6 separate regions of the Homo sapiens genome follow, and regions 1, 2, 3, 4 and 5 are each linked to region 6. Evidence: promoter capture Hi-C in 16 types of primary human blood cells and fetal thymus (Javierre and others, 2016). All regions are on one chromosome and are shown on one strand. Each heading gives the region's core, a stretch centred on a gene start or on the middle of the fragment in contact. The rest is flanking DNA. Distances are from core to core; before and after follow the strand shown.

The links. Contacts are between HindIII fragments. The CHiCAGO score rates a contact against its expected background, and 5 or more counts as called.
Region 1: a fragment that was not itself captured here is called in contact with the fragment with the promoter of SFMBT2 in region 6 in 1 of 17 cell types (M2 macrophages); the score reaches 6.3 in M2 macrophages.
Region 2: a contact is called between a fragment that was not itself captured here and the fragment with the promoter of SFMBT2 in region 6, in 5 of 17 cell types (erythroblasts, M2 macrophages, M0 macrophages and 2 more). The highest score is 14.1, in erythroblasts.
Region 3: a fragment that was not itself captured here is called in contact with the fragment with the promoter of SFMBT2 in region 6 in 4 of 17 cell types (erythroblasts, megakaryocytes, total CD8 T cells and 1 more); the score reaches 8.8 in erythroblasts.
Region 4: a fragment that was not itself captured here is called in contact with the fragment with the promoter of SFMBT2 in region 6 in 1 of 17 cell types (M2 macrophages); the score reaches 8.0 in M2 macrophages.
Region 5: a fragment that was not itself captured here is called in contact with the fragment with the promoter of SFMBT2 in region 6 in 4 of 17 cell types (M2 macrophages, M0 macrophages, M1 macrophages and 1 more); the score reaches 10.5 in M2 macrophages.

The regions. Positions count from the first base shown.
Region 1 is chr10:6,878,464-6,882,392 of GRCh38, forward strand. The region is part of intron 3 of LOC105376387 (a long non-coding RNA gene); the gene reads right to left. Among named protein-coding and RNA genes, the nearest start is that of LINC00707, 100 kb to the left of the region's middle. The HindIII fragment of the contact is 3,051 bases long and covers 735-3,785 here.
Region 2 is chr10:6,850,715-6,854,391 of GRCh38, forward strand. All of the region lies in intron 3 of LOC105376387 (a long non-coding RNA gene), which reads right to left. Among named protein-coding and RNA genes, the nearest start is that of LINC00707, 73 kb to the left of the region's middle. The HindIII fragment of the contact is 2,111 bases long and covers 561-2,671 here.
Region 3 is chr10:6,896,613-6,900,595 of GRCh38, forward strand. All of the region lies in intron 3 of LOC105376387 (a long non-coding RNA gene), which reads right to left. Among named protein-coding and RNA genes, the nearest start is that of LINC00707, 120 kb to the left of the region's middle. The HindIII fragment of the contact is 3,581 bases long and covers 1-3,556 here.
Region 4 is chr10:6,810,104-6,813,803 of GRCh38, forward strand. The region is part of intron 2 of LINC00707 (long intergenic non-protein coding RNA 707); the gene reads left to right. Among named protein-coding and RNA genes, the nearest start is that of LINC00707, 32 kb to the left of the region's middle. The HindIII fragment of the contact is 7,286 bases long and covers 1-3,700 here.
Region 5 is chr10:6,788,639-6,792,558 of GRCh38, forward strand. The region is part of intron 2 of LINC00707 (long intergenic non-protein coding RNA 707); the gene reads left to right. Among named protein-coding and RNA genes, the nearest start is that of LINC00707, 11 kb to the left of the region's middle. The HindIII fragment of the contact is 1,330 bases long and covers 1,446-2,775 here.
Region 6 is chr10:7,408,659-7,412,688 of GRCh38, forward strand. It overlaps SFMBT2 (Scm like with four mbt domains 2), which reads right to left and starts at 2,376. Exons shown (of 21, transcript NM_001387889.1): 1 at 2,203-2,376. RefSeq lists enhancers at 1-146, 194-273, 2,625-3,545, 3,546-4,030 and silencers at 1-33, 2,250-2,389. The HindIII fragment of the contact is 4,872 bases long and covers 1,959-4,030 here.

The DNA of each region.
Region 1 (3,929 bases), core at 1,010-3,509, 530 kb before region 6:
AGTCCACACAGATGGCAGGAGCAACTTAGAGGTGGGAGAGATACTTAGAGAGCAGCGACTCAAATATTTTCATTTGATTGCTTTAAAAAAATGAGGCTTTGAGAGGTGAAGTATTAACCTCTTGCCCACCATTATACCACTGCAGAGAAAAATCAATTCACCTGAAGTCAGGGCTCTGTCCAAAAGAGGACCCACAGTTTCTGAGTCCCTCACTGGTTTGAGCATGTGTCTTTTACCACATGGAGATTTTTAGACATTGTGTGCTTTGTAGGGTTTACTCATTTTAATTAAAAAAAAAAACAAAAAACCCTTTCATGTTGTGCAGCTCATCGTCGAAATGCTAGGCAACACGCCGAATGTTTTATTACAAACCAGCATTCCCTGCAGAAAAGTCTTATTTTGATTAATCTTCAGCACTTACAGCTCCTTTCTGCCAATCAAAGTTTCCATCACGCACAGGGTGCTGTTGTAGAGACCAAGTTGACATGTTGAGGCAGCCCAGAACAACTTTAGAGAGGAGAGGGAGGACTTTTCCTGTCTCTTTTGATAAGGGAAATAGTATGTTTTAAAGACACCTTTGTGGAATCCTTCTTCCCTTAGAGTAGATTGAAAGACTCTCACTTTAAAATAGCCACCCCAGTGGAGTAAAAAAGATGCTGAGTTCTCGTTCTCATGAATATACTGCTGATTAGAAGAACAAGATGTTGACAAACCCAGCCCAGATAGGTCTATAAAGCTTGAAAGAATTTACTGAATAGGCTGGGCGTGGGGGCTCAAGCCTGTAATCCCAGCACTTTGGGAGGCTGAGGCAGGTGGATCACGAGGCCAGGAGTTTGAGACCAGCCTGGCCAACATGGCAAAACCCTGTCTCTACTAAAAACACAAAAATTAGCTGGACCTGGTGGTGTACGCCTGTAATCCCAGCTACTTGGGAGGCTGAGGCAGGAGAATTGCTTGAACCTGGGAGGCGGAGGTTGCAGTGAGCCAAGATCAAGCCATTGCACTCCAGCCTGGGCAACAGAGTGACTCTGTCTTGGAAAACTAAATAAATAAAATAAAATAAATGAAACACAATATTTATCCATTAGCATCTGTTTGTAGGTGTGTAGTAAAATATCGGTTAACATTAATTTCATATTGAAATTTCAGAAGCCTTTTGAGATTGCTATTAAATCATTTAAAGCAGCTCCTCTTTTCTTGGTAAAACCCTTTCATTTGAAGTGTCTGCTATTACATTATTGGACCTAGATTTCATTGCTATAAAAGATCTTTAATTTGGGTACATTTGTAAGCTGTACATATTATTGATTTATATCTCATACTCATTTTTCCAGTGATTATTACCAAAATATCATTCTGTGTAAAGCTATTTGCAGTTTTGACAAACCTTGGAAGAATTACGAGCAAACTGTTGAGATGCAATCCTTTGCATCTAGGATAGGCGCTCCACCGGTTACCAAGGTTCTTCTTCTAGCATTGAAATTAGTGTGTACACAGTGGTCTCCCCAGGTGGGCTTCTCTAAGGTTCTCAGCACTTATCCTGCTCTTGAAGTTAGCAGTTGTTTGATTGTCCAAGTAGTAAAAATGCATATTGATACTGAAGCTGGTTTGTGTTCCTGCTCTCTTTTCTTCTAAAATTGTAGGTTACAATGTTAGACTTTGTCCCTTCTCTTTTTTTCTTATTTCTTCATTCATTCAACAAACAATCACTGAGCACCTTCTTTGTGCCAAACACCAATCTCGACTCCAGGGATACTGCACTGAACCATCCAGATCTCAGCTGTGAATTGCTGTCAGGAACATTGTGCTTTGAGAATGAATTCATTACATTACTAGCAGAGTTCATCACCACACGCATCACTACAGCAGAGCTTAATTATCATTAATGTGATATTAACATTTGTGTATTTATTCATTACACACACAATTGGCAATATTATCTTTCCTAGATAAAATACTTTAACAAGTCCAATTACTAAGCTGCTGAAAGGACATACATAAATGTTTGTAAATAAATAGAGGTTTGGAAGATACAAGATGATTGTGACAAATGTCTGTCCCTGAAAGATGATAATCATTGAAAAGCATTACATTTATTTTGAGGAAACTGGTTTTTTTCTCAACAGAAAAAAACATATTTGTAGCAGCTGGAATAAGAGGTAGGCATAGTATGAGAATAATACCTAATTTCATAGCAAGTCCGTTTTATTTCTTATGATTTGCTGTTCCATTGTGATTACAGTTTGTTGACTAGTGGCCCCTTCAACCTTTTTATGATTTGTTCTTACAACCAATCATTCTTCTCTTTCTTCTACAGTGTTGATTCCTCTTCCTCATGATAGCATCTCATTTTGATCTAGTTATCTGTTTGAGCTTTGCTCTACTATTTTCTTAGCATTTTCTCTTAACATTTCTTTGTTCTTACATCAGCTGTTTTGCATACATCTTAAATGTGGTTAGGTAAATAAATGCACAGAGACCTGTCAGTTTTTTGCCAACAGCCAGGCACCTGTTCATGTCAGCAATTGTCAACTAATGTACTGTATTTTTTGTTTTTTGAGACAGGTTCTTGCTTTGTTGCTGGAATGCAGTGGCGTGATCATGGCTCACTGCAGCCTTGACCTCCTGGGCTTAAGCCATCCTCCTGCCTCAGCCTCCTGAGTAGCTGGGACCACAGATGCCTGCCTGCCACACACGGGCTAAATTTTTATGTTTTGTAGATACAAGATCTCATTATGTTTCCTAGGTTGGTCCCAAACTCCTGGGCTCAAGTGATCCTCCCGCTTCAACATTCCAAAGTGCTGGGATTACAGGAATGAGCCACTGCATCCAGCCCACTGTAATTTTCACATACTCACCAATGCTGGCTCTCATTGATCATATGAAATTATGAAATCACGTGAAAACAATGCCTAGTTCAGTCCAAGGGAAGCAGATACCACTGTTTTATAGAAAGAGATAATAGTAAACCTATAATCATGTCCAAGGAAGTGATGTACACAGTATTAGCTAGATGAGTGTTTTCTGTTACAGGTACCATTTCTGGATTTGACGGGTATATTAGTCATGCGAAATAGTCTTTGCTCCAGATATAAAGGAAAGAATAGAAGGCAACATGATGCGGTAGAAAATAATGAGCTATGGAAACAGATAGGCGTGAATTTAAATTTCTGCTTTACTTCTTCCTACTATTAAGATTGGACCCACTGAGCTTCAATATTTTTACCTGTAATATGAAGATAATGAAACAAATGTCACAGAGTATTACATACTAGTTTCTAACTTTTTTCTTCCTTCGAATCAAAAAAGAAACCACATGTGTTTAAAATATGCACCACTCAACATTCTAAGATGGAAATAGCTTAAAGTACCAAATTTGAGATTGATGTATATTGGGGGATGGAGATTATTAAATTTCCTTGTTCAGATGAAACATAATTAACATAATCAGTTTGGAACTTTTTTCATGCCTAATTCACTTTCTAGTCCAAAAATAATGCTGTGCAAATTATTGGCACGTTGTTTCATTTTCATGCCTAATTTAAAAAAAAAAATCTTTTCCTTGTGCTCAAATGCCTATTTAGTTCCATTTGGGCCATTTTCTTTGAACTAAATGCAAATGAGGGAGGTTGCATGTATTTCATAATCTCCCTTTAATCAAGATCACTATGAAGCATCAGCCCCCTGGGTGACGGGTGACATAAATCATATTAACTTAATTCTGTGTGTTTCATTAAAGGATTTAGTATTTTTATGAACCAGAATATCTGGGTCACTGCCATAGAAGCTTCAATCAAGCTGCAGATCTTATGGAGTCAATGATGTGTTGCTTATTTGATGAGATGAAGATGAAGTGCCTACTCCCATCTCATACTGGCCTCATTAACACATGGTTGCTTTAAGAGTTCATGAGTTTTGGCCAGGTGCGG
Region 2 (3,677 bases), core at 366-2,865, 560 kb before region 6:
CCAGGCATAAGCCACCACACTGGGCCTCTACTCTACTTTTCGATGTTTAGGTATGTTTAGATACACAAATACCTACCATTGTGTTAACAATTGCCCGTATATTCAGTAGAATCACATGCTGTACAGGTTTGTAGCCTAGGAAAAAAGTATGGCACACTGTTCAGTAAAAATTTGCAGGGTAAAATAAGCGAATAAAATCCCACTTTGTTGTTGTTGTTGTTTTCTATTATCCAAGAGAACTTTGAAATAGCTCCAGAAAACATATTTCTTATTCCAAACACATTCATCTTCATTTCGAAAGTAAAAAAACTAAAATACTAACTCAGAGAAAAATCAAATGTTTAATTTTGGAAAGTATAAAAATTTACCAAGATTATTAACAAGTAGTTACATACTTGATTTAAAATGCATGTTGTCCTTTAAGCTGCACAGACCAAAGAAGTCTTTTCCAAGCTTCTTGGTGCAGAACTATGCTGACTCAACTGAGTACTCACCCAGGCTTGGGGTCAATTCAAACCTTCCTTTAATTAAAAAAAAAAAATTTCTCCCTCCCTGAAGCAAGCTTCCTTCCATGCTGCTACTGTTATGTGAAGATGGAGCAGCCTCTTTCCAAAAATCCCATAAATCAGCAGCTCTTAGATTTCATGGCATCATGTTGATATTGCTTCTTGACTCTCTAAGGTTTAGCATTTTTTGATCACCTTTTCTTCTAAGAAAGAATCTCAGCTTTTTGGTAGTAAGTTGAGAGTTAAACTTCCGATTGACAGCTACTTAACTCATGTCCAAAAATGTTGAGATAAATGGTAGTTGAGACAGTCCAAGGAACAAGTTGAACTTTGTCATTAGATACTTGTGTCAAGCAGAGCATGAGAATGTAAACTCCTTGGTTTAAAATGATTTGGTCCTCATAGAAGCCCTTTCCCTGAACAAAGATTCAGGACCATGCTCTCAGCTCTTACCAAAGGCTGGTATAAGAAAAACCTTCGTGAAGTGCAGTTATTTATTATTTTTAAGTAAAGTTTATTTTTTCCGTATATGAGTAATTCATACTCATTATAGACAAATTGGAAAAATACAGAAAAGCAAAAGGAAGAAAAATTTTAAGATAGTCCCATTCCCCAAAACAATATGGTTCATTTCCACTCTCTCTTTGTTCTATGAAATTATTTTTAAAATCTTCCGGTAAGATAATAAACATAATTTACAAAGCATATGTTTTCTGGGAAAATAGTTCTGAGGACATGGTTTATGTTATGTCCCTAATAAGAGTCTACAGGATTTCTTGATAGAATATAAAATTGTCTCTTATAGCAAGTCAATATGGTTTCTTTTATCACACAAACTGCATAGAGCATTATCTTATTTCTCTATTATACTGGGTAACAAGAAATTCAGACAATTTCGTGCTCATTTTTAGTAATGTTCTCCCCTAATCTTCCTCTTCCCCCTCTCTTTCCATGTGAGTTCTGTTTTCTCTTTTATCTTTATTTTATCTACCATGCATATAAAATATAAATGAGCCCCTTTTTGTAAAAATCACTTACCAACTCCCTTTTGAGGAAAGTAAGACGCAAATAAATAGATTGGCAGTCTGGGAGAAGCACAGTAACTCTTTTACTTTTATTCTGGTGAAAATGCAAAGAATAAAACCTAATATTCACCAGAGGAGAAGGGACACACAGGGTGAGACAGAAAAACATACAGGGGCTGGGGACGGTGGCTCACGCTGTAATCAGAGCACTTTGGGGGCCAAGGTGGGCAGATCACTTAATGTCAGGAGTTTGAGATCAACCTGGCCAACATGGTGAAATCCCGTCTCTACTAAAAATACAAAATTTGTCAGGTGTGGTGGTGTGTTCCTGTATTCCCAGCTACTCAGGAGGCTGAGGCAGGAGAATTCCTTGATCCCGGGAGGTGGAGGTTGCAGTGAGCTGAGACAGCCTCACTGCACTCAGCCTGGGCCACAGAGCGAGACTCCATCTCAAATATATATATATATATATATATATATATTTTTTTTTTTTTTTTTGAGACATGGAGTGTCTACAAACTACAAAATTCAACCATAACACTAAGATCTTGCTGGGTACAAAAATGTACACACACAAAAATAAAATAATAAATGTGATGCACGGAAGATAAGCAGACTAATGTTTATTGGGATAATTTCGCTTACTAACCATGCTATATCCTGTTATCACTCACCTCAAACCCTACTGTCATCTAAAAGGGGAATCCCTTTCCTTGTAGGTGAAAAGGGATTCTCCTTTTATATGGCAGTAGGGTTTGAATGCATTCTTGGTTATTCTGAATGCACTCAAAATATCAAACTGTAGCCGTTTTGTTGCTCGTGAGTATCTCATGCTACTGTTGCCCTGAAAAGTCCATGCAGTATGGAGATGCTGAAGGGAACTCAGGCCACTTCGACAGGTCAGTTATATGGTAAGGTGGGAATGGGCAGAGAACGGGGATGACGTGGAAAATAATATAAATTTTAAAGACTCTAAGGGTAAAACTATTAAAAAGAGAAAATTCACAAGTTTGGAAAATAAAAAGGGAAATGAGTTTAATGCAAGTCATGGAATCTACTGGACTATCCTCTGCGAGAAGATTTAGGACGTTAGCTCATGGTTGTTGAGCTGGGACTGGCTCTGCAGAGAAGAGAGGAAGAAGCTTGGGATACTGTTGGAAGATTAGGGAGATCCTGGGAAGGCCGAGTGTGTTTTGATAAATGCAGTTTCAGCCTCACACATTGAAAGATCTGAGAAAATACAATAAATTGATAATATAATAGTAAAGATAATAGTCATAAAAATGACAGTGTTTTGCAATTAATGTGCTGCCTTTGTATTTGCTAACATTATTAAACCTTCAAAATCCTGATTGAGTAGGTGGAGCATATTATTATTATCCCCATTTTCAATATCAGGAAGTGAAGCTCATCGTTGGCCAAATGGCTTACCTGAAGTCACACAGTAAGTGACAGTATACCTCTCAGAAAATGTCCCAACAGGGAGGGAAAAAGCATGGCACACTGTTTAGTAAATATATGTAGGATGAAATGAATGAATAAAATCCTACTTTGTTGTTGTTGTTTTTTCTATTTCCATTATCCAAGAGAACTTTGAAATAGCTCCAAAGGCCGGGCACAGTGGCTCATGCCTGCAATCCCAGCACTTTGGAAGGCCGAGGTAGGCACATGACCTGAGGTCAGGCATTTGAGACCAGCCTGGCCAACACGGGGAAACCCCGTCTCTACTAAAAATACAAAACTTAGCTGGGTGAGATGATGTACGCCTGTAATCCCAGCTACTCAGGAGGCTGAGGCAGGAGAATTGCTTGAACCTGGGAGGTGGAGGTTGCAGTGAGCTGACATCGCACCACTGCTCCAGCTTGGGCAAAAAGAGCGAAACTCCGTCTCGGAAAAAAAAAAAAATAGCTTCAGAAAATATATTTCTTATTCTGAGCAAATGCATCTTTATTTCTAAAGAAAACCAACTAAAACACTAACTCAGAAACAAAATCAAATGTTTAATTTTGGAAAGTATAAAAATTCAAAAAAAGAAAACTAATATTACTGATACCCCAGAGATAAGCACAAGTAACAGTTTGGTGTTATCCCTACAGTTGATTTTCTATGTGTTTTTCTGCATGTATTTTTTGAAGTTACATATATC
Region 3 (3,983 bases), core at 516-3,015, 510 kb before region 6:
ACAAAATTTAACTATATTTCAAAACACTAGCAATGGACAATTCAAAAAAGAAATTTTAAAAACTAATACCATTTACAATAGCATAAAAATATTAAAATTATTTAATAAAATATGTATAAAACCTAAATACTGAAAACCAAAAAACGTTGCTGAAATAAATTAAAGAAATAAACCATCTCCGTATTAGTCCATTTTCACACTGCTATAAAGAAACACCTGAGACTGGGTGATTTATAAGGGAAAAGGCTTAATTAACTCACAGTTCCACACGGCTGGGAGGCTTCAGGAAACTTAAAATCAAGGCAGAAGGCTTAGGGGAAGCAGGCACCTCTTACATGGTGGCAGGAGAGAAAGACAGATAGCACAGGAGAAAATCCCATTTATAAAACCATCAGATCCTGTGAGAACTCACTCACTATCATGAGAATAGCATAGGAGAAACCGCCCCCATGATCCAATCACCTCCCACCAGGTCTCTCCCTCCACGTGTGGGGATTACAATTTGAGATAAGATTTGGGTGGGGACACAGCGCCAAACCACATCAATCCTCATGGATTGAAAGACTCAGTATTATTAAAATATCAGTTATCTCTAAATTGATCTATATATTCAAAGCCATCTTAATGAATTTCTTACAGGCTTCCCTTAAAAACGACAAACTAATTCTAAAATGCAAATGCAAAGAATGTAGAATACCCAAAATAATTTTGAAAAAGGAGAGTAATGTTGGAGGACTCATATTACCTGACTTCAAGAAGTACCAAAAAATACGGTAATTAAGAAAATGTGATATTAACTTAATAATGGGCATGTTATTTTGGAACTAAAAACAGACTCCAGAAATAAAACCATACATATATAGTTAGTTGGCTTTTCTGTCTAAGAAACCAAGCTAATGTAATAGGGGAAGGATAACCTTTAATAAGTGGTGCTAAAACAAAAAAAAATGAAAATGAATTTCAACTCATACTTCACACCATTCACAAAGTTATTTCAAAATGAATCACAGTTGATAATGTATTGGCTAATACTAGAAAACTTCAAAGAGAAAATGTAAGTGATCACATTTACAACCTTGTAATAGACAAAGATTTCTCAAAACACAAAAAGAGCAAGAACTATAATAGAAAAAAAATAATACTTTGGACTCCATCAAAATTAAAACCTTCTGGTCTTTGGAAGATATCATAGATACCATCAACAAAATGACAAGGCAAGCCACAGACTAGAAGAAAATATTAGCAATATACATCTGACAAGGGATTTACATCCACTATTTATAAAGGATTCCACTAACTCAATGATAATCCAGTTAAAAAGTGGGCAGGATTTGAACTGGCACTTCATGAAAGAAGACATATGAATGGCCAGTAAGTGCGTGAAAAGATGCCCAATATCACTAGCCATCAGCAAATGCAAATTTGAATCACATTGAGATACGACTACACACCCACTGGGTGGGCTAGAACTTAAAAGGCTGATGATAGCAAGTGTTGACAAAGATATGGAACAACTGGACCGCTCATAGATTGCTTTGGATGTATAAACTGTTACGACTTTGGCATCTTCTTGTGAAATTAAACATGCATTTACTGCACAATTCAATAATTCCTTTCCTAGGTATTTATCTAAGGGAAATAAAAACACATGTCCACAAAAAATCACTTGTATACAGATGTTCGTTGCAACTTACTTTTAAGGCTAAAACTCAGAACAACCTAAATGTCCATTTGCAAATGAGTGGTAGGCAAATTGCGTATATCTGTGTAATGCAATATTATCCAGTAATAAAAAGAAATAACTACTGATGCTCTCAACATGGATGTGTGTCAAAAATGTTATGCAGAGTAAATGAATACAGACTCAAAAGAGTACATGTTGTATGACTCTGTATATATAAAAGTAAAGAATTATCAAAAGGCCTCTATAGTGACAGCAAACAAATTAGTGATTGTCTGGGACTAGGACAAAACGACATGGGGTAACTTTTTAGAAGGACAAAAATATTCTATATCTTTATTGGCTCGTGGTTACATTGCGTGTACGTTTGTTAACTCTTGCGGAACATACCTGTAAAGTGAGTGTATTTTTTATACTGTATGTACATAATAATTTCATCAAATTGATTTTAAAAAACAAAAATAGTATATCATTTTGCAACTATCAACCTGACAAAAAATTTAAGATGTGAGGACGTGAGGACAGGATGCTTTCATACACATCAGGTAGGAAAATGAATGAGTGAAAACCTTCTATTAGAGAAGGGTGCAACACTTAGCCAAATCCTTAACAATGGATGTATTCTGTTTAATAATTTTTTTTTCATTCCTTCCTAGGACTAAATTCTAAGTAAACAATTAAAATGTACAAAGGCTTAGCTATGAGAGTGCTTGTCTAAATGTTATCATTGAAAGTATTGAAAATAAACTATCCCAAAATAGGAGCTTGGTTAAGTAAATTATATTCATGCAATAAAGTGTCATGCAGTCACTAAAAAGGATGGGAAATTATATCTGTTGATATCAAAATACATTCATGATATCTGATTAAATGTTTAAAAGACACATTTATAAAACTGTATCATACACTCTTACTTTTGTTCAAATGCAATAAAAAGGCCAGGAAATGCCAGGAGCTATTATTGGTAGTTTTACCTAGATGATAGGACTGTGATGAGGTTTTCTTTCTCTTTCTCCAGTTTATTTGCATGTTTCCCTTTATTTCAAATGCACACGTAATGTTTTTGTAAAGACAAAATTAGAAGTGTATGTTGTTATAGCAATTATTGTTCTTAAAAGGTAAAGTAAAGGGTAGCCTGAGAGGCGAGGTGCTGTGTGGAACATTATTAAGGTAAGCACTGGGGTGTGACAGAGGCTTGGACTTTAGTCTCTGTCATGGACAGATACTAGACCCAGGTGGGGAGCCCTTTTTGGCTTCCTTCATTGCCATCTGACTTCCTACTACTTCAGGCCCTCATGATATGAATTATTTTATGCCTTTTCTCAACCTATGGACTCTTCTTGATAAATCAACTTTGAAAGAAAGCTGCTGCAGGGACAGCAACCAACATTAATGATGACAGTCAAGTGAATTTGGCGAAATGATTTCATTTCCTGGGAACGTACACTCCTCCACGATACTTTAAACTCCATGAAGGGAACAACTATCTACCATAAAATATAAGAGCCTGACACCTTCAGCTGGTATAAGGTGGTCCTTGGCAGAGCTCAGCACGCGGTGGATAACAGCACTTAAACATTCACCGCAATAAAATACTCTTGTTGGAATTCCTTGAGACCTTTTCAAATGCCTCATGGCCAAATACCCAGCAAGTATCCTTGAAATAATTTGAGCACTAGAACTGAGAATTGATGTGTAAATGACGCATGGCTGCTAACAGCCACGTGAGGTCTTAGAAGGAAAGGTTAAAAGAATTCGGTTAATTACCTTGGTGGGAAGAAAGTTGAAGAGAAATTTAATAGCTATCATTAAGAATCTGAAATATTATTATAAATAGATTGTTTCCGAACCATTCTCAATTTCCACAGAGAGCAAAGCTTTTGGAGCAGCAAGAAGTCAAATAAGACATTGGTAAAGAACTTTCTGATTCAGCACTGGAACAGGCTACCAAGAGATGAAGTATTCATTCCTGGAAACCTTTCAGAATAGCATAGACAACTCACTGTTCAATTAACCTGGATCTAGCCCTGAATCAAAGAATTAAACAAATGCTCCTTGTGTTTCCTTCCCATATTAGGGAGGTGTAATTCTATCTTAACTAGAAAGTCACTCCATCAAAAGAATGCCAGAGAATTCACTGAAGTGGCCACAAAGGGCTTCATGTTAATTTTTTAATGACGTGTAAGAATGATATTCATTAAATTTAAAAAGCTTTATACATTGTGGAAGTGACACAGGATTTTTCTCAGCCCCTTTGCTGGACTCGCAGCAGGGGCATCCCATCTACTTGGCCTGCTGCACT
Region 4 (3,700 bases), core at 694-3,193, 600 kb before region 6:
GTGAGGCAATGCCTTGCCCTGCTCTGGCTGGCACACGGTGCACTGCCCCTACTGTCCTGCGCCCACTGTCTGGCACTTCCTAGTGAGATGAACCTGGTACCTCAGATGGAAATGCAGAAATCACCCATCTTCTGCGTCGCTCATGCTGGGAGCTGTAGACCGGAGCTGTACCTATTTGGCCATCTTGGCTCCTCCCCCAGAAAACTCTTCATAAAATAAACCTCTGATAACTCAGCTTCACTTTACATGCTATTAGAACATCATATCAGGTTAAGTTCTTTGGACAATTCCTTTAAGATTTATAATGATTGTATCCCATACACAGTGGTGTAGTTGGATACTTAATCATTGTCACTATACCAATTGAGTAATTTAGGGACAAAGCAGATGAGACTAGAAGTGTGGTAGAGAGGGCTTAATTATGTGGTCTGGTGGACTAAGCTGATTAAATCAACTAAATCATAGTCTCTTCTCCCTTTACATCTGAATACGAAGAAACCAGGCAAAGTTCTTTCCACTCTGAGAGCTGTATCTGCTCTCGATGTGACTGTGGGAACCAGGATGAAGTGATGAATACTGTTGCTTCATCTGCCATCGTAGGAACTGCTTTATTAATTCAGGAAATTAATCGCTCCTCTGGCTTCGACTACAGATTTAATGGTATGTCTTCTAAGTCTTTATACTCAGCTCTGCTCCTTCCCTAAAACTCCAACACTTCCAGCTTTCTGTTGAATTTCTCTACCTAGGTGTCCATCTGCCATTACCTCCAACTCAATCTGTCCAAAACCGAAATCCCACTCTCTGCTTGATTTTATGTAATGGAACTAACGTTCTTTCAATCATTCAAGCTGTAAAACCTGGTGTCATCTTTGACTATTCACCATTCTGATTTCCACATTCAATGAATGACTATGTTCTATAAGCCAGGAACACATTCATCTTTTCAACAACCACTGCCAACACATCAGTTTGGGCTGTTACCTCTTACCTGGACAAAGAGTGCAGCAGGCGGTGTGAGTGACATGGACTTAAGGCTCAGTTAGGGTTCTCCTGCCTCAGGGTAAAAATAAAAATGGTGTGGAGAAATGTGCCACGACCATGTTTTATGTCTTTGCCCCACCACCCACACATTTTAGTTCAGTTTTGCTAAATCATGTCTACCACCTGAGCTATTCCCAGCACCTCCCACTTCTTCTGAGTTCAGTTTCTTCATAATCCATGTCCACACTGCTGCCAGATTCATCTTTGTGAAGAGCTCTGATGACTCAAACCTCTACTCAGGATAGACTCACCCTAGCCAGCAAGGCTATTCAGAAGACAGTCTCTACCGTGGTACAAATATGAGCCACCATGGTCATTATCACAAGGGTGGGCTTCCATGAAATCCAAGGAAAATTTAGCCCTGTTCTCCACATCTTTCCTTCCTGGTAATTCCCGCTACCATTTCCACCTTAGATACTCAGGGACATGTTGTTTCCCTATAGACAAAGGCTTTCTGATACTCTTTCTGTTTTCTGTATCACCAGCCTCTCAGCGCACTTACACATTATTTCCAGATTTTTTTCTTTTTCAAACAGCTCTGAATATGACTGTCCTACTTGAAAACAAAGGTTCCATATGACCTAATTAAGGACAGATTTCCTTTCCAATCTTTCCCTCATTCCTTCGATGTACTCTGCACTTCACCCAAAGTTCCCGCATGTCCTCCTCTCGTCCTGTCGCATGCCACCAGGATTCTCCCACTCACCACCTGTCACAGAAACATGGAACTCTGTCTTCTTAAGGGGTTCTTTTTCCTCACAACAGCACTGGGAGTTAAACTCTATGGCCCTTTTCATGTTTATTTGTCCAGTTGTTAAATCCCTGAGGGCCTCAGTTCCTGCCCATGAGTTTATTCCCAGGGAGAGAAGAAACATTAAAAAGTACTTTTACACCCAACATTTCTAAATGGTCTACTGGTCTACATGGTCTTATTGTCCTCATATGTCATTGAGGAAACAGACAAAGAAATAAGTGATTTGGTGGAATTCAAACCCAGGCATCTAATTTAATAATCAACTTTTTTTCTTTTCTTTTCTTTTCTTTCTTTCTTCCTTCTTCTTCTTTTTTTTTTGTTTTTGTTTTTTGTTGTTGTTGTTGAGACAAGGTCTTGCTCTGTCTCCCAGGTTATGTAGCACAGTGGTGTGATGTTGGCTCACTGCAGCCTCAACATTCTGGAATCAAGCGATCCTCCCTCTTCCGCCTCCCGAGTAGCTGGAACTACAGGTGCATACGACCATGCCTGGCATTTTTTGTATTTTTGGTAAAGATGGGGTTTCACCATATTGCCAAGGCTGTTCTCAAACTTCTGGACTCAAGCAATCCTCCCACCTGGGCCTCCCAAAGTGCTGGGATTACAGGCATAAGCTACTGCACCCGGCCAATAATCAATTACTTTCTTCAATTATCTTACTGTGAGTTGTTTTTTAAATTCCCTTATGCCTTTTTCTAACTTTCCTTTCTAGGTCTAAATTCTTTGAGGTCAAGGGTAATATATTAAATATCAGAGCACCTGCTACAGTGTGTTGGCACAGAGTATTTGAAAAGTGAATGCTTGTTAAATTGAATCATATAGATTTGATTTGAATTTTGGTGACTTTTGATTATATGTCTTCTAAACTAGTCTTGATCTCTTCTGATCTTCTGTTCACTGCATACTTGCCCGAAATGTTTCTTCTAAATATTCTTAACCCTGATGTGAATTAGCTGAATATCTTTCTATAGTTGGTAGTTTGCCTAGCATCTCTGACTAAACTTACTCTTCGCAATTTTTCCTCTAAGTGGGCTGCTTTTTGTTTGCTTAATTACTTTGTGCACTTTGCTGTCCATCAATATCATATTCTATGAAAGCATCGACTAAGTAAATCCTAATATGATATATGGTGTAAATAATAGCACAAAAGCTACTATCACTCATTTCAGATTCTAAGAAACTTCCAGGGCTCTGGATTAGAGCTAAGATTGTCTGTAGAATCAAGCTGTCTCAGCACAAATTTTTAATAGAAACTACACAAGAGACTAATTTGGGTTCAAATGAAATACACATTTTAGATATACATCTAGTAGAATAAGTATTTGTTAACTCATCTCCCGATTTCTAATTGGTTGACCCAGCCTCAGGTGGACTTGGATTTATGATCTCCATAAAATGCATACTAAGTGAAATCTACCTAGTTTCAAAAATATTGTCAGAGATCACGTCATTTTTAAATTCTCTTGAATTGGCCTTACTTTAAGAACGATAATTCATAATGTGAGTGAGGGGTCACTGGACTGGGAGGTTATGTCATTGACTAAATAGAGCCAGAATCTGGGTATTGGAGCCAGAATTTGGCTAAATAGAGCCAGAAAGGCCTTGTGGGAAAGATGCCTGAATTCCAGCTTTGTGTCCCATTCTGCACCAGCTTTTTTTCAAGTTTGTTTTTAAAATGTGATTGGTGTTAACAAATCATCAGCAAACACAATTACAAACAAACATTCTTCCTAAGGGCAAGGAATATTGCAGTATTGTAAGTGTAGGCCAAGTAGTCAACATTTGTGATGAGCAAACTCTGACACTTCGGTGACCAAGTAGGAGGAAAGAGACAGTGTCAGCAGTAGAAGGCCAGAGAGAGAAGCAACTTAAAAGGGAGAATCATTGCTCTATGCCTCAACATTATAA
Region 5 (3,920 bases), core at 861-3,360, 620 kb before region 6:
CTTCATGTCAGCCTTTTTTTTTTTTTTTCTGAGAAGGAAATCTGATACAAGATTGAATAGGAGAACAAGTAGCAGAATTTAGGGCAATATAAAAGGGCCCTGGAAGGCAGGTGAACACATTTTTCTTCCTTGCCCAGAAAAATGTCAATAGGCATTTTACAGCTTCTCCTTTTCTTTCCTTTGCATTCTGTCCTCACTGAAAATGCCCAGTTCACAGCCTGATATTCTTTGAGCGTTTTTCCATTCAAGTCCCAGTTAAGTGATCACTCCTGGGTCTCCAACTGGTTTCGGTCCCGAAGCTGTGTTTGCAGAGATGGAAGGATGCTTGTTGAAGTCGGGACGTCCAAGGGCCACATAAGTGAGGATCTAATTGCCGTGCCTTGTCTCAAGGAGTCTTGAGTTCATGATGTCTTATATTTCTTCATTACTTCCCAAAGCAAAACTTTGTACATCTAGACATATACGACAAGTTTGTTTTTTATGATTGTTTTAGTTTGTCTTGGCAATTGACGTGGGAAGTTGTTAATGCAGTAGACAGATGAAATAAAGACTTGGAGATTAGATGAACTGCTCCAATCAGAGCCTGGATGCAATGCCCTGTTGCCCTCTCTTTCAGATCTATCCAAAGTTAACTTGACTCCATCGACTGGCCCTTAATTTCTGCAGTTCTCTCAGTTCTGGGAATAACCTTATGATTGTTCTTCAGGTGGAGACCCTAGAAAACCTCCAGAGTTTGCTTTGATCCTCATACTCCACCTCCCAAGGAGGAATAAATTTGGAAGTGTATAATAAATCAAAGATAAATTTGGAAGCACATATGAAAAAGCTTTTATGGGACTTCTGCTTTTGAGTAAGATGGAGATATTGGTGACAGACTAATCCTGAAAATCAGAACAACTAGATGAAACAGATAAAATCCAAAAATTATCTGTTTTAAAGGTACCAAGGAGCTGTTGAAGCAATGTAGGTAGAGAGGCTGAAAGACAGCAAAGGGGAGAATCTGCACCAGCCTTTTATCCTGGGGCACTGTGGGTTCACTGTGAGTTCTGGGTGAGAACGAGAAGCTTGGCATCTAAACTCTACCCAAACCCCTTCTCAGCGGGCAGGATGCAGAGGTTTCAGCAGAGCTCAGGGAAGGTAGCCAGGATGTGCAACACAATAGGGCCTTCAACACAGGACCAGCTTCCCCCTCAAGACATTTGCTGAATTCTGAAGCTGCAAGGGAAGGACATAGGAAAGCTAAGCTGAGTACATCAGAAGAGCTGGGTCGAGTTTTCTGCAGTGTGACGATGCCTTGGAGACCCAGGTTAGAGTTCAGTTCCCAGGAGAGGCAGTGTTCCTGGGATGCACCAGCCTCAGTCAAAGCCCTGGAAGTTCATGTTGCCGGAAGAGGATCAGCCCAGAGGAGGCTTACCCAAACTGCAAATTAAAGGCAAAATAGTGAAAGCTTTCCCTCAAGTGGTGGAAAGAAATAAGGGTGCCTACTGTTTACCACTTCTAACCTACATGGTCCTGGAAGTCCAGGCCAGGGCAATAATGCAAGCCAACGTATAAAGGGCAGAATCATTGGAAAGGAAGAAAAAACTTACTAGACACAGATGAACTGTCTCTATATGAAGAAAAATCCAAAAGAATCTGCAAACAACTTAAATTTAATGTCTCTTTACGCAGTCTCCGCATGTAAGGTCAGTATAAAAAAATCACCTCTATATCTATAGACCTGCAACACAGAGAAAATAAAATCTTGCAATTGCAGGATTTGCAACAGCATCGAGGAATATTAAATACTTAAATAGAAATTTTAAAGAGGTATATGAGATTTGTGTTCTAAAGCCACAAAGCATCTCTGAGAGGGAACTCAAAGGGAGATCTAAATAAGTAGATATAGTAAATAAGTAGATCTAGGACATTTGTCAATCAGAAGACTCACTTGTAAACATGTCGACTCTTCCTACATGTATCCCCAGCCTCATGCAATCCCAGGAGATTACATGTGTGTGTATTTGTAAATTGACTCAAGTGATTACAAGATTTATATGAAAATGCAGTGAGCCAAAAATAGCCAGGAAATCTTAAGGAATAAGAGCGGAGAGCAGAGGAAGGCTTCATGGGCCGGGTAGGGGGGCGGGGAGCCTTGAGCTAAGCCGTTGGGTGCATGGGTGGTAAGTGGAATTTTGTTAGGGACTAGAACCATAACAAGTTTGTTGGGGTAACCCTAACACCTATCCTAATGCCTGCCTGATGCCTAACAAATATTCAATAAATATTGGTTAAATGTACATATGAATGAATGGACAGATGCTTGAGATAAGAGTATGTCAGGTTAAAAGGACAGTAGAAGCAACAGTAAAGAAACACGAAACTATCTTACAGTGAGGCATCAAATGTGTCCTAAGTGCGTATGTGAGCTGCAGAAGAAAGGGAGGCTAGAATATTCAGACAGGGCAGTGTTGTGCAGAGGTCTGAAGTAGGCTTGTAGCATTTGGACCTTACTCTTTAGGCATCTAACATTTTGGAACAATGTAAAATGAGTGATAGGTTGGGAGATGAATTGGGCCAGTGACAGGGGAGCCACATGACACCCACCCAGTCACTTCCCTGAAGGACACCCTCTTTGCTTTCTATATCCAGCACCAGCAATAAAATTGGAATTCTTTGCTAAGGTCATTGTTCATATATTTAATATAGAAATCTCCCCAAATGTTAAAAGCTGACAGACACTTAATTTAAAAGCCTAAGTACTCTCTGTCTGAGCCCTGACTATGCCAAAAGCAAAGCTTTTTGTGCTATCAAGAATTTGATGGGATTTCCTTTTTGCATTTCCTTTTCAAAAACCATTAGAACAGCCAGCACCATGCTCCTCTGGAGACCCTTACATTCTACCTTCATGAATTTTCTTGGTTAGGAACAGAGTGCATGAACTCTTTGGGTCTCTCTGTTAGGATGGGTTTCAGCTAACTGTACTTTAGTACAGTTAGTACCAGTGCTTTAATACACACAAGCTTACACTCACAACGAAGTCCAGAGCAAAGCAGTCTGTGATGATTATGGCAGTTTCATGCTGTCATCTCCTATGAGACAGCCCTGCCAGAAGGGCTGCTCACATCCTGATGGCTAGAACTGGTTACATGGCTGTGCTGGTTGCAACAAAAGCTGGAAAATGAAGTGTATTGATACTCCAAAAGAAGCAGAGTTTCGGTAATACAGAAGAATATTGGTGGACATTGAATAGGTCACCAGCAGTCATTGCTACATGATCCAGTCTTCCTTTCTAAAACAAGAACAATCTTGTAGAAAGCGGGAACTTTGAGACTTTCTTAGCTGAGAAATTTGTTGTTATTGTTGCTTTACAATCTCTCCTCCTCTCCTAAGAAGTTGTCCAAGGAAACTGGAGGTTCTTTGTTTCTTAAGCTGGTTGAAGATATAGTTTGCAAACCTGAACAGAACAAAATAACTATTCACCAGAAGAAGAAGAAAAAAAAAAGGCAGGTGGAGGTGGGAAGGAATGTAGGCAAGATCAACCAAATCAATAAAAGAACTAATACCCATAAAGTAAAATGAGCAATGGTCTTGAATACATATTTCACAGAAGAATACAAATGGCTTCAAATTATGGTAAAATTGGATACCAGATAACTGTGCTTTTAAAAATCAAACTGGGAAATATTTAAATTATGATAATACTCAGTACTAGTGAGCTTGTGGCTTGGGAGAATAATTAGTAGAGCTTTTATGAAAAATCATTAAATGTATATATAAAGAGTCTTAGTAAAATGTTTGTTATTAGATCAGAAATTTACCATCTAAAGAAACTTACCGAATATGTGATGTTTTCACAGATCATGAAATTGAAGGGTACAAAAAAAGAACTTCTATTTTTCTGTGACTAAATGTCGATTTCAAGTTCTCATACCTCCTGG
Region 6 (4,030 bases), core at 1,126-3,625:
CCTGGCCACGGGCGACCCCTGTCGGGAACCCTGTTCCCGGCTAAGCTGCGTTCCCGCATTCCGGTGGCTCTCACCCGAGCTCGCGTTTGCTGGCTTTCCCTCTGGCTCCTCTGCCTGACCCCGATTTTGTCTCCGAACTCCACTCCCAGATCCTCCCCGCCCTGGAACGCCGACCTTTCCCCCGCACTTCGCCGCCCACTCACATCCCCCGGCGACTGCCCGGCCTCCATGCCCGCCAAGACAAGAAGATGCCCCTCTCCGATGCGCCGAGAGGGTTCCTAAGCCGAGCAAGGGACAATTTCTTCCCCAAACGCTGTCCCCATCCCCCACCTTCCCTAGAGCGCGAAACCCAAAAGTAAGGAAGGCAACCCCTCGCCTCGACCCTACGTGCTTGTCTCCCAGAGCCGCGCGCTCCCGCCCTTCTGCCCCACCCCACCACCACCACCACCACTTTGGTCTTCTCCAAGCTTCGGTCCCGGTCCCCCACCTCCCACCCCAGAGCGGCGTGGAGGAAAGCAGGAGCCCACTATTAAGTGCAGCGCGCCCCCTGCACACACGAAATCCGGCTGGCGTCTGCAGCCCGATTGCACCCAATACCCGGGACAGTTAGTCCTTTTAATAAGCACCTCCTCGCCCCACCTACTCGGGGATCTACCCGCGCAGGATCCAGCACACACAAGGCGAGAGCTAGCTCGTCTCCTAGAAAGACAAAATAAATCACTCCCTCTGCCCTCATGTACTTTACACCACGTGTCCGCAGTTTGTCACGTCAAATCATGGCAGGGTCTGGTTCCAAGACGCACACACACATTCGGGGTGGTTCTCTTTGACACACACACCCAAAAAAACTGCGCACACGCAGGCCTGCACACTAATCCACAGGCACACACGACAGTTGCGTTTCGGTGCCCTGGTCCGGGCCAGGGGCACTTCTCCATCCCTTTCCCCCCTAGCAATGGACTTGACACACAGACTCTAACCACGGAAAAAAAAAACCGGACAGCCCATTCCTTCTTTTTTTCCCCACTTAATTCGCTAAAGCGCTTCCTGGGGTAGCCAAAGAGAGTCGAAACTAAGGGGTGGAAACTTCAGCTGGGTTTTTTCCCACCTCAAAACCTTTATTTTCAGTTTTTAAAAGCCACCTTAGCCCGCCATATTGAAACTGGCACGGTTTCTAAAGACTCCTTCCCCGCAGTTGTGGCGCTTCCAAGAAAACACGAGTACGGATCAGGCTCTGGATGAGTGTCCGGCCACCGAGAATCAGCCACTTCCCACCCTCCAGGATCCCCCAGCTCCCTCCAGCCCCTTCCCACCGCCCCTGGTCAAAATCAATAAATACATCTCGCAGTTCCTACAGTTGCATTTTGGCGGATTTCTGCAAAACATACACACACATACACATACCCACGCACGCATATTAAAAAATAAACTCCAGAACCAGCTCAAGTCAGCAATTTTGAAAGGGGGTCGAATAAGAGGAGACAACCGGAAAGCCCCTAAGTGACAGGATATTACTTTAAAGAGAAAATAATGAACAAAAAGACCATCCTCGCTGGAGCACGCTCCAAAACTACTACTGCCAATTTTATTTCAGTTGCTCAGGCAAATGTTTCCAAGGGAGCGATTCCGAATGTCTGCACGATTTTTACCCCCATGCCGGTCTCCGATTCCCCGTCCTCACCATCTTTTTCTCCCACCCAAACCAAAAGAAAGGGGAGACCCCAGCGCGGAGGAGACGCGGGAGCGCGGGGTAGGTAGCAGCGGCGGCTGCGTCGCTAAAATGAGTGCAGAAACGAGGAAGGTGGGCGGCGGGAGGGGACAGGCTGCGCCCGGGGAAGGAGGACACTTTGCAACTCCGGACGGACTCCCGCACGGCTCGGCTTTTCCGAGCCCGGAGACGCAGGCGAAGGGGACCCGGGAAGCAAAAATGACAACCTGGAGCGCACAGAGGAGTTTGAAGCTTCGCTCAAGTGCAGTCGCTTTCTTCTCCTGCCCTTCTCTTTCGCTCCCCTGCACCCTCCCCAGCCTTCCCCCACCCGCCACCTCCAACCCCAGCTCCCTCAGGCTTCCTTCCTTTTTTTTTTTTTCCTTTTTTTTCCTAGGCTGGAAAAAGCCCCTGACCAGCGCACTCAACCTGCGGGCCGAAGGGCTGCTCTCCGGCCAGCCTGGGCGCCGGGGACAGCAGCCGGCGCGGCGTCCTACCTGGTGAAGTTCGTCCTGCCCTCGGCGTGGACCCAGGCCCCGGTCGCCGCCCGGGAGGGCACCGGCCTCGCTCGCTTGCTCGCTCGCCCGCCCTTGCCCGCTCGCTCCCCGCCCGCCGCCTCCCTCGCGCGCCCGCTCCGGTCCTCCGGCTCCCACTACAGCTCATTCCAATATGGCATCCTCTCTGTGCGCATGCTCGGCGCTCTTTTTTTTTTTTTTTTTTTTTTTTTTTTAAGATTTTGTGTGTGTGTGTATGTGTGTGCGTGCGCGTGCAGCGAACTCCTTCAACGACCTTTTCCAGCGCTTGCAAAATTTCTTAAGCCAATTAGCCTGCGGGACGTGATCGGCTCCTTCCCCAGCCAGCTCCGCGCCATTCCCTGCGCCTAAGCAGGCGGGCACCCCCAGGACCCTGGGACCTTCCACGCCCACGCGGCCTCCTCCCCACCGCGCTCCCCTTCCTCCTTTTTGTGAGCTCCCTCCATACATGATCTGCAGAAAGTTCCCATCGCGGGCGTTTCCGCACACCCCTCCGCAAGGACAACTGGGCAAACTCCCGTTTCCCTGGCTGCGGTTCGTGAGCTGGGTTTCCAATGGCTCAGTCGACCGTGTGCACAAACTTGCGCTTTATCCGCCGGGGATCGCTGGGAGCGGAGATAAATTCAATCCCCAGGGCAATCTTGGCCCCGCCCGCCCCACCCCATCCTGTGCTTAAATAGAGCCTTTCTTGAAGCTGCGAACATTTCCAGGCCCCTTGGGCAGGGCTGGAGGGGCCGAGGAGAGCTATTCGAGGGAAAGGTGCCCCGAGGGGCAGGAAATTAAGTTGGGGCTGCCCGGGCGAGCTGCCAGGTAGCCGTGCTCGCCACGGCGTCTCATGGGGCACCTAGCTAGTGGCGGGCCTCATAGGGCGGGAAAAGAATCGTCGCTCACACCCCAGCAAAACGTGGCCCTCGACGGTCCGTTGGAGAGCCCCGGCGGCCGTGAGCCCCGGGCAGGGCTGGACGTCTGCGGAGCCCTCGGGCACTTTGTCCCGGGCGCCTGGGGAGGAACGCGGAGCTCCCAGGGCCTTAGGTGCAACGGCTGCGCAGAGCCCAAACGAAATGTCCCCAGTGCGGAAAAGCCGGTGACGCCCTGGTAGCAAGACCAAGAGCTTCCGAAGAACGCTGCGCCCTTAACTAGGGGGCCTCGCAGAGATGCCTGTGTGGGCCTGCATTGTATATTTCTGCGAAATAGCGAATGGACACGTTTGCTCAGGGTTTTTATGGTTGCCAAAGGGGGTAAAATTACCCAGTCCCCCAAATCTGTGTCCCATGAATCCCTCTCATAGTACCCCTCTCCAGGGGGCCAAGAGGTCCTCCAGGTCCCCGTGGGTTCGCAGCTCCACCCGCCCTTCCTCGCCCTGCATCCCTAAGGAGAGGTGTCCGCTCTGAAGGGCTAGGGGCCAGCCATGGAGTGAGGGGACCGGGGCTGACCACGCGCGGCACAGACAGAGGTCCTCAGGCGGGCCCTCTCCTGGACGGTGGGGCCGGAGCTGATCTAGAAGAAATACGGAGGGACGTGCCGAGAAGCCGCTCTCCTTCGCCGCGACCCTGGAGAGCGCCTCTCCACCCAAAGGATCTGCCGAGCTGAGAGATCCAGGGCGGGCGTCCGCAGCCGTGAGGCCCCCTGCGCCGCCAGTATGGGAAGATCCTGCCTCCTTACACCTTGGAGAACGCTGGGCGACGACTAAAGCGCCTTCCGCCGGCCTGTCACTCCATGTGACACAGGAGCCACGTGAGACCCAGAAGAGTCCAGCGACTCGCCGCGCGGCGCACTTTAAACTCTAGCCTGA